Linked DNA regions of Homo sapiens: regions 1 and 2 are each linked to region 3. Evidence: promoter capture Hi-C in 16 types of primary human blood cells and fetal thymus (Javierre and others, 2016). All regions are on one chromosome and are shown on one strand. The core of a region is centred on a gene start or on the middle of the fragment in contact, and the rest is flanking DNA. Distances in the headings are between cores, read along the strand shown. Region 1 has its middle 15 kb from the start of GEMIN8. Region 2 overlaps GEMIN8 (gem nuclear organelle associated protein 8). Region 3 holds the start of TCEANC (transcription elongation factor A N-terminal and central domain containing).

What was found. The method cuts DNA at HindIII sites, captures the fragments that hold promoters and counts their contacts. A CHiCAGO score of 5 or more calls a contact.
Region 1: a fragment that was not itself captured here is called in contact with the fragment with the promoter of TCEANC in region 3 in 1 of 17 cell types (non-activated CD4 T cells); the score reaches 5.1 in non-activated CD4 T cells.
Region 2: a fragment that was not itself captured here is called in contact with the fragment with the promoter of TCEANC in region 3 in 4 of 17 cell types (naive CD8 T cells, total B cells, non-activated CD4 T cells and 1 more); the score reaches 6.9 in naive CD8 T cells.

Annotation. Positions count from the first base shown.
Region 1 is chrX:14,043,415-14,046,125 of GRCh38, reverse strand. No RefSeq gene overlaps it. Among named protein-coding and RNA genes, the nearest start is that of GEMIN8, 15 kb to the right of the region's middle. The HindIII fragment of the contact is 2,451 bases long and covers 53-2,503 here.
Region 2 is chrX:14,015,565-14,018,454 of GRCh38, reverse strand. The region is part of intron 4 of GEMIN8 (gem nuclear organelle associated protein 8); the gene reads left to right. Among named protein-coding and RNA genes, the nearest start is that of GEMIN8, 13 kb to the left of the region's middle. The HindIII fragment of the contact is 1,695 bases long and covers 466-2,160 here.
Region 3 is chrX:13,651,748-13,654,482 of GRCh38, reverse strand. TCEANC (transcription elongation factor A N-terminal and central domain containing) reads right to left here and starts at 1,342. Exons shown (of 5, transcript NM_001297563.2): 1 at 1,295-1,342. It overlaps LOC107985657 (a long non-coding RNA gene), which reads left to right and starts at 1,044. Exons shown (of 1, transcript NR_171573.1): 1 at 1,044-1,986. RefSeq lists enhancers at 1,120-1,209, 1,470-1,659 and a silencer at 1,230-1,541. The HindIII fragment of the contact is 12,822 bases long and covers 1-2,735 here.

The sequences.
Region 1 (2,711 bases), core at 29-2,528, 390 kb before region 3:
GAACCTGTACTTAAAAGAATCTCTTTGACTTTTATTTGGCTGAATACAAGCTTTTTATTTGAATACTCCAACCCAATACAATTGTCAAGCTAGTGGTGAGCTGGGGGAGGAAAGTGAAAAGTGGGAGAAGGAATTTAACAGTGTGCTGTGTAACTATCTCCTCTGAATTCCCACTTAAAATTGAAAGCATGTACATGTTCAAAGACAACTCCAGCCTCCAACCCCTTTTTCTCTTCTCCCACTGAACCACGGAATATGAACTCAGATTATCAAGAGATATATCAAACAAATTATCTCAGGGATACTGACAAAAGGCCATAAATGCCCCAGAACAGAAAGACACATATTGTGGTAATAATTTGCACTGTATTAATGCTCCAAATGCATTATCCCATTTAAACCTCCCATCAACTCCAAAGTGGGTGCTAATAATATCTGCATTTTCACATGGGATTCAGGCAAGAATACATTCAGTAAATTGCTCAAGATTACACAGTTAGGAAGTAGAGAAATAAGACTTTGAATGCAGTCAGACTCTAGAGCCTCACTCTGTAGATCAGGGTTCCTTTACCTCAGCACTAGTGACTTTTGGAGCCAGATAATTCTTTGCTATGGCTCTGTCCTGTGCATTGTAGGATGTTGAGCAGCATCCCTGGCCTCTACCCAGTAGATGTCAAAAACAACTCCCCAGCAGTAACAATCAAAAACATCTCCAACATTGACAAATGTCTCCTGGTGGGAAAAAATTGCCTCCAGTTGAGAAATACTGCTATAGATGGGGCAGGGGGAAACTTGCTTAGAGATTAAATACATTGCCAATCTATGACAACTGGTAAATAGCCCAATCTGCATTCAAACTGAGAATGACCTGACTCCATATGCCATTATGCTATATTGATCAACTTGGCAAAAATAAAACAAAATGAAACAAGAGCAAAAAAAAACAGATAGGAATAAAATAAAACAAATAAACTATTATTTTGGAATGATTTGCTTCCATTTAAAGAAAAAGAAACAGAAACAGTCCCTAAAGACTGTTTAAGAAAAAGACTGTTAATGATTGTTAAAGAAAGAGTCCCTGAAATACTTAAACTTAACTAAGAGTAAGCAGAGATGTTCTATAAAGTAGTATTTCTCAAAGTTGGCTACATATTAGAACTATCTAGTGAGCTTTAAAAGTACGGATATCTGGGCCTCATCCCCAAGAGATTCTAGTTTAATTGGTCTGGAATGTGACCTGGGTTTGGGATTTTTAAAAGCTGTTCAAGTGTTTCCAATATGAATTCAAAGCTAAGAACCACTGCTGTAAAGGATTCAACTAGTATTTTATTTCTATGGGTCTTATCAATCATGCATATTAAATTGATTACATACATTTAGTTTAATAGAAAACCAATGGATACCTAATAAATTGAGAGCGTACATTACCCTTAACATTCACTGAGCTACTGATCACCAAATTTGTAGATGTTTATAGGATCATATAGCCAGAAGAGAAAGTATTCTCTAGTTCCTAACCTTTGGACCATCTTGTCCCCCATCATCATTTCCAACAAAAAATTAGCCAAAATTTGAAAGGGTACTGTTATTTCATGATTATTCACAGTGCTTTCAAAGTGTGATGGAAGAATATTTTTTCAGTTATTGGGTAAAATGTGATTTTGGAATGGTTTCAAGACTCTAAACACTTTATTTTGGCTTATTCCAATATGTGTGATTAAGTAATTTTTCTAAACATTAACCTTGTCACTACTACCATGAATAATTCAGAATTCAATAGATACATTCATTTCTAATATGTAATATGTTCAGATAACAATAAGACACCTTAGGTTTTCATTACTGTAGCCGTCAAACTACGGAAGTGATAACATTTGCTTAAATGGCTTTCTATAACAATGACCAGCAAATCTAGCCTAATGTAGACAACACTGTTATTCACTCCAAATATACTCCCTTTCCTTCCATAGACAGTCTATGCCTGCACATGGCAAGCAATAAAACAGTATGAACATTCAGATAATTTATCCAGTGTTGATGATCATTTCTAATTACACTGTACAATAATTTGTCCAGTGATTAGCATTGATTATTACAAAATGGTCACTTCTCAAACATTAATCTAAGCTGACAGGCTCAGAACACAATACCCCAAAATACAGTAGCTTGGCAATTGAGAAAATGGCAGAAGCAGGAAGGTCTCTCTCATCTTCTCCCACCATTCTCCCCTGAAACAGGCCATAGAATCTAGGAAGGTCAGTCTCTGACCCTCTCCTTCCTTTCTCCCCTGAAGACCCTCATATGACAGGTGTCCTGCCCTATACCTAGAGGAAAGAAATGTTACACAGAGAGGCCAAAAAGAATCTGAACAAACAGGCCTTGCTAAGTTCCCCCAAATTTACTACCACTATGTCATATTATTTTGTCCTCCAATCACACTTCTGCATGACTGTCCACAAAAATATGGTTTTCCCTTAGTCTCTGGGTTTTCATTTCTGAAGCTTCCTGTGTTATGTAAAATTTATATTGAGTAAACTTGCTATGCTTTTCTCTTTTTAATCTGTCATTTGTTATTGGGGTTTCAGCCATGAAGGAACCCAAAATATTTCTGTCTAAAACACTGAGGACTATTGACCTGAAGAAGGTTAAAACACCAGAGGACACTCTGCCCCTCCCTCTGCCTGCCTGATGACAGGAGAGCAATTTACAAA
Region 2 (2,890 bases), core at 64-2,563, 360 kb before region 3:
GAGGTTGATACTTTTATGATGGAAATTGTAATTATGGATGGAAGCAAATCCCAGTCATCTCAAAGGTGACTTTGAATTATCTGCTGGTTTAAAATAAACTTGAGTTAGTCAATAAAAAGTGGATATGAATAAAATAAAGATAAAACAATGAAATGTGTCCTTGCACCAAAGAAAAAATGTGAACGGTTCAGTTACAGATATTGTTAACAACCATCCCTATTCCTCCCTCTTGCCATTGTTAGGTAGAACTCTAGGTAGGTAAACAAAATCATGAAAATTACCTGCTAAGTCATACTTGCCACTTAATATTATTTTGAGTGAATAAATGAAGTCTTTCAGTGTGAATTAGAAGCCTTAAATCAGAGGTTGGCAAATCTTACCCATAGAGTGCTACACTTGCAGTGATTCTGTGGGACATTTTACAGAATGAGCTAGGCCTTGTGTGCATTATAAACTTGATAAGCTTCATCTCTGTGTTTCATATTATTTCCAAATCTGTCTAGTTACTTTACGGCTCCAAATTGCACTTTCATCATCTGGGTTGAATTGTATCTCCCCAAGAAAGATACAGTGGAATCCTAACCCCCAGTTCCTCAGAATGTGACCTTATTTAAAGACAGGGTCTTTCCAGAGGTAATTGAGGTTAAGTGAGGTCATTACAGGGATCCTAATCCTATGTGACTCAGGTCCTTATAAAAAGGGCAAAATCCGGACACAGAGACAGACACACATGCAGTGAAAACACCATGTGAAGATTGACATTATGTCGCCACAATCCAAGGAACATCCAGAAGGTGGGAGAGGCCTGGAACAGATCCTTCCCTAGCACCTTTAGAGGGTTTATGGCCCTGCCAACACCTCGATTGCAGACTTCTGACCTCCAGAGCCATGAGACAATACATTTCTGTTGTTTTAAACCACCCAGTATATGGTACTTTGTTATGGCAGCCCTAGGAAAGGAGTACAATCACCCTGGGAGAATTTTCTTTGTCCCCAAATGCAATCTGTGACTGGGACATAAAGTAAACCCACAGTTCTTGTCATCTGTCTGAAAAAACTGTATTACTTATTTGTTTTACTGTGATCTAGATAGCAAACCATCATAAAAGGGAATTTTATGAAAACCCTTGCAACTTCCATCTTGAACCTCATTTTCCAGTATTCATATTATTGCTGGCAACAGTGTATGGAGGCAGCTGTGGCAGAACTGCTTGAATCACAGAGGTCCAGCCTCACTCTACCACTCGCTGATTAGAGGTTCTCGTCCTCCTGTAAGCCCCCTGCCTTCACCATTCTTTGCCTCAGTTGCCTCACCTATGAAATAGGATCCTAATTAGTGGGTAGTAATTATGAAGAATCCCTAATGGGTAGTAATTGTGAAGAATCCATGAGATAATATGAGAAAAGTTATAGAATGGTGCTTGGTACCAAGTTGGTGCCCAATAAATGTTATTGTTACAGTTAGTTGCTAGTAACCCATCCTTTAACATGGATTATTAACCATAAATTGGTTTTTCTCTGATACCGTTTGCCTTGATTAGTGCTTGATTGAGATTCTGTACATATATATATATATATATATATATATTTTTTTTTTTTTTTTTTTTTTTGAGACAGATTCTTACTCTGTCACCCAGGCTAGAGTACAGTGGCGCCATCTCAGCTCACTACAACCTATGCCTCCCGGGTTCAAGTGATTCTCCTGCCTCGGCCTCCCAAGTAGCTGGGATTTCAGGCGCCAACCACCACACCCAGCTAATTTTTTTATTAGTAGTAGAGATGGTGTTTCACCATGTTGTCCAGAGTGGTCTTGAACTCCTGACCTCAGGTGATCCACCTGCCTCGGCCTCCCAAAGTGCTGGATTATAGGCATGAGCTACCGCGCCCAGCTAAGATTCTGCATATTTTTAATAAGATGTTCTGTGACTTCAGAAAGGTCATATTTCTGCTCTGGGTGGCACCTTTCAAACTTTTAAACTGATTTAGAATATTAAAGACATGAAAGAATGAAAGTTTTGGTGTCTATCAAATTTAGCAATTAACACAGTTTTTAGTTCTGTTTCAAGGATATTCTTGCTTGATAAAATTTAATGCAGTAAAGTACATGGACTGGGAAAATTAACCCACTTCAATATTACTAATAATGTCCCTAAACAAGCTTTCAATTCTTTGTATTTTTAAAATGTGTAGTTACAGCATGATTCAAAACTACTTTTCTTAGCGTCTGTGTCATGCTCCTACAGCCTTCCCTGAATGCATTAGCTGGTCCCAGGGAGATGTGAGAATTGTCTGGTGAGGGTGAGAACAGACTGTGGTGTCAGACTGGAATCTAAAGACTTCGTCTATATTAGAAGCAGCTGCCAGGGCCCGATCTTGCACCAGTAAGAAAATAATGGGCAATAGATCACTAGCATTATTTTTTTCAGCAGCACTTTTGGTGAGTACAGGATGAACAACTGTTCTTCAAGCGGTAATGAATGATGGAATTCATATGTAAGTAATCTGAGTGCCCATGGCGCTTTCCAATTCATTACCTTCACCAGAAATTTTCATGGAGGGTTAGTTACATACACTGTTGGAAAAAGCTTTAATAAAGAGATAAGGGACCTGGGTAGTATGAATAATTGGTTCAAGTTTTTTGTTTCATTTTGCTCTCAAAACCACTAGAAGCTACTTATTCAATAAGGACATTTTCAGCTTTGAACATGAATGCTTTGAAGAACACAGGATTTTAGAAAATGTTACTAGCAAGAGGAAATGTCACTAAATTTGAAAGATTTAACTTTTCAGTATTATTCACTTCCACAGGAACATACAAGTTATGCAATTCATCATCGCCTGAGTCTTGTTTAATATTTTCTTAGGATAAAGGCCTTCAGATTGGACAGTA
Region 3 (2,735 bases), core at 93-2,592:
AGAAGGTATATATTCTAGGCTTTGTAGGCCATACAATCTCTATGGACTACTCAACTCTGCTGCTATTGTAGCAGCAACAGCAGATACAGAAAATAACATAAATGGATAGGCATGATCTTGCTCTGGTAACACTTGTTTACAAAAACAGGCAGGCTGGATTTGGCTGCAGGCCATAGTTTGTTGACCCTTTTCTAGAGCAGGGCTGTGCAACATATATATAACATGTAAACCACAAATATGATTTAAAATTTTCCAGTAGTCATGTTAAAAAATAAAAATTGGTGAAATTAATTATACATTTTATTTAACCCAGTGTATCCAGAATAGTCATTTCAACATGTGATTAATATAAACAAATTGAGATATTTTACATTCTTTTTCATGCTAATTCTCGAAAATTCACTGTGTCTTACACTTACAGCACATCTCAATTCGGACTAGCCACATTTCAAGTGATCAAGCCTTATGTAACTAATGGCTATCATTATTGGGACGCCACGGTTCTAGAACTGATGCTAATATGGATAATGCTTGCTTAGGTGCATACCTATACCAAAAAGTGTATACAGTGCCAGGAAAAGTAGGCACGAAATATGGTATTGGATCCATATAAAAACTTATAAAGATTAGCTAATATTATAGTAAGCAAGGTGCACACATCTGCACAAAAATGGCCTAAACCCTGAGAAGAACGAGAGGAAAGGTCTGGAAACAATGTTTCCAGAAGTTTGTAACAAGTCAAAAATAACCTAGATCTGTTCAGATCTTTAGATCTCTTTAAAGCCTAAAGAGAAACTGTAACTTTCTAGCCCTAACCCACTTAACAGCTCCCCAGCTTCACAGGGAGCCCCGCCCTCTATGGAGAGAAACGATGCCAAATGTTGGCAGCGGTGTAGCGGTTACTGAACAGCCACTCAGCACTGCACTAGGACCATTTCCCTTAATGGTGACCCCTAGTAAAGGTGCAGCGAGAGGAAGGGACCAGCCCAACTGCCCGGTCTAGCCCGGGTTCGAGTTCCGGTGGGTGGGGTCGAGCAACATGCAAAGCCTGCCGCTAATCATCTTGGGATGACGGCCCGGCACCCAGCACACAAACAGCGACAGTCCCGAGGGTTCAGCCCACTCTGGCGACCTCGACAGTCGGAGAGGAAGGGGCGGGGGTGCGAGCACCTTCGGATCTACGCCGCCCAGGGCGCACCGGAAAGCTGCCGCGAGCCGGGGTGGGCTTCCGCTGGGAATAAGGGCTCGCCTTTTTGCGGGACACAGGCCCTGGCAAACCTGAAGCATGACTCACCGAAAAGCGCAGGCGCAGTTCCGGAGCCTTCAGCCGCCCAGTGCCCACGGAGAACTTCCGATCACCGGGACTGGGACAACGTCAAGGCTCAGCCAATCCAAGCCCACAGGCCGGCGCACGTGGTCCTGGGACCCAGTGCATGCGCGCTAGGGAAATGGCTGCCGTGGGACTGCGCTCGCGCGGCTTCCTAGAGGAGGAGCCATGGCCCCGCCCCGGGCCCGAGAGAAAGAAACTGCACTTTCGTTTTTTAGCAGCAAAGTTTGTTGATGTACTTTACAACTTATCTTTTCTGCTTCTACTCAGGACAGTCAAGACAGTGCTCAGCTAGATGTTCACATAACTGTAGACATAAATGTGAATCTATTTAACGCAGTAATTAATTCAAAAAGTGTTTTTAGCATCCTAGCATGCATCAGTTGATATGAAAGTAGTAAATGTTAATTGAGTGGTCTTGTGCATCCTGGACTTCTCATCTGTGCATATTCTCATTCTTTGCCTGCAAAGGGCCAGTAAAAGCACAGTGATGGTTGAACGAATGTGACAGCCTCCTTTGCTGATGCCTTACCCCAAGGTAATTTGGGGAAAGGTTCAGGGAAACAGAGTATCCAATCCAATACTCTGGACTGGGTGCTGGCAGGAAGGAGGGCGATTGTATGATTAAGTATCATAATAAATCTTACCTAAAAGGAGGGGAGACAAGACCAGTGACTCATTAACTGGGATAGGGGATGTTTGGTCATTTTTGTGGTTTGGACAATGTTTACGTTTTTTCAGCATTCCCACGTGATTACGAAGGAGTCTTGTTTTTGTCTTGATCCATCTGGTCAAAGAGTGGCCACGTCTGATGGTGTTCTGTGAAGTATTTATGTTCCACGCAGCACCAAGGCCCAGCTGTGACTGCCGGGGCAGCTCAGAGCTGTCAGGGGTTACTTTTTTCTTGCTGTCTATTATAGGGCTAAAATGTTTAAGGATTATATAATACCTTTTTAAAGAAAAAATTATTTGGCTGGGCGTGGTGGCTCATGCCTGTAATCCCAGCACTTTGGGAGGTCGAGGCAGGCGGATCATGAGGTCAGGAGATCGAGACCATCCTGGCTAACACGGTGAAACCCCGTCTCTACTAAAAATACAAAAAATTAGCCAGGCGTGGTGGCACGTGCTTGTAATCCCAGCTACTTGGGAGGCTGAGGCAGGAGAATCGCTTGAACCCGGGAGGCGGAGGTTGCAGTGAGCTGAGATCGAGCCATTGCACTCCAGCCTAGCGACAGAGCAAGACTTGGTCTCAAAAAAAAAAAATTATTTAATGACACTTGTCACTTGTTAAAGCATGGTAAGGAAGACTTTATTCAGGACCATTGAGATAGACATAGGTACCACTGCAACAGGGTCTTGCAGTGGGGAAGAGAGATTGGGCTCAACTTCAATTGTAGCATGGAAAAGT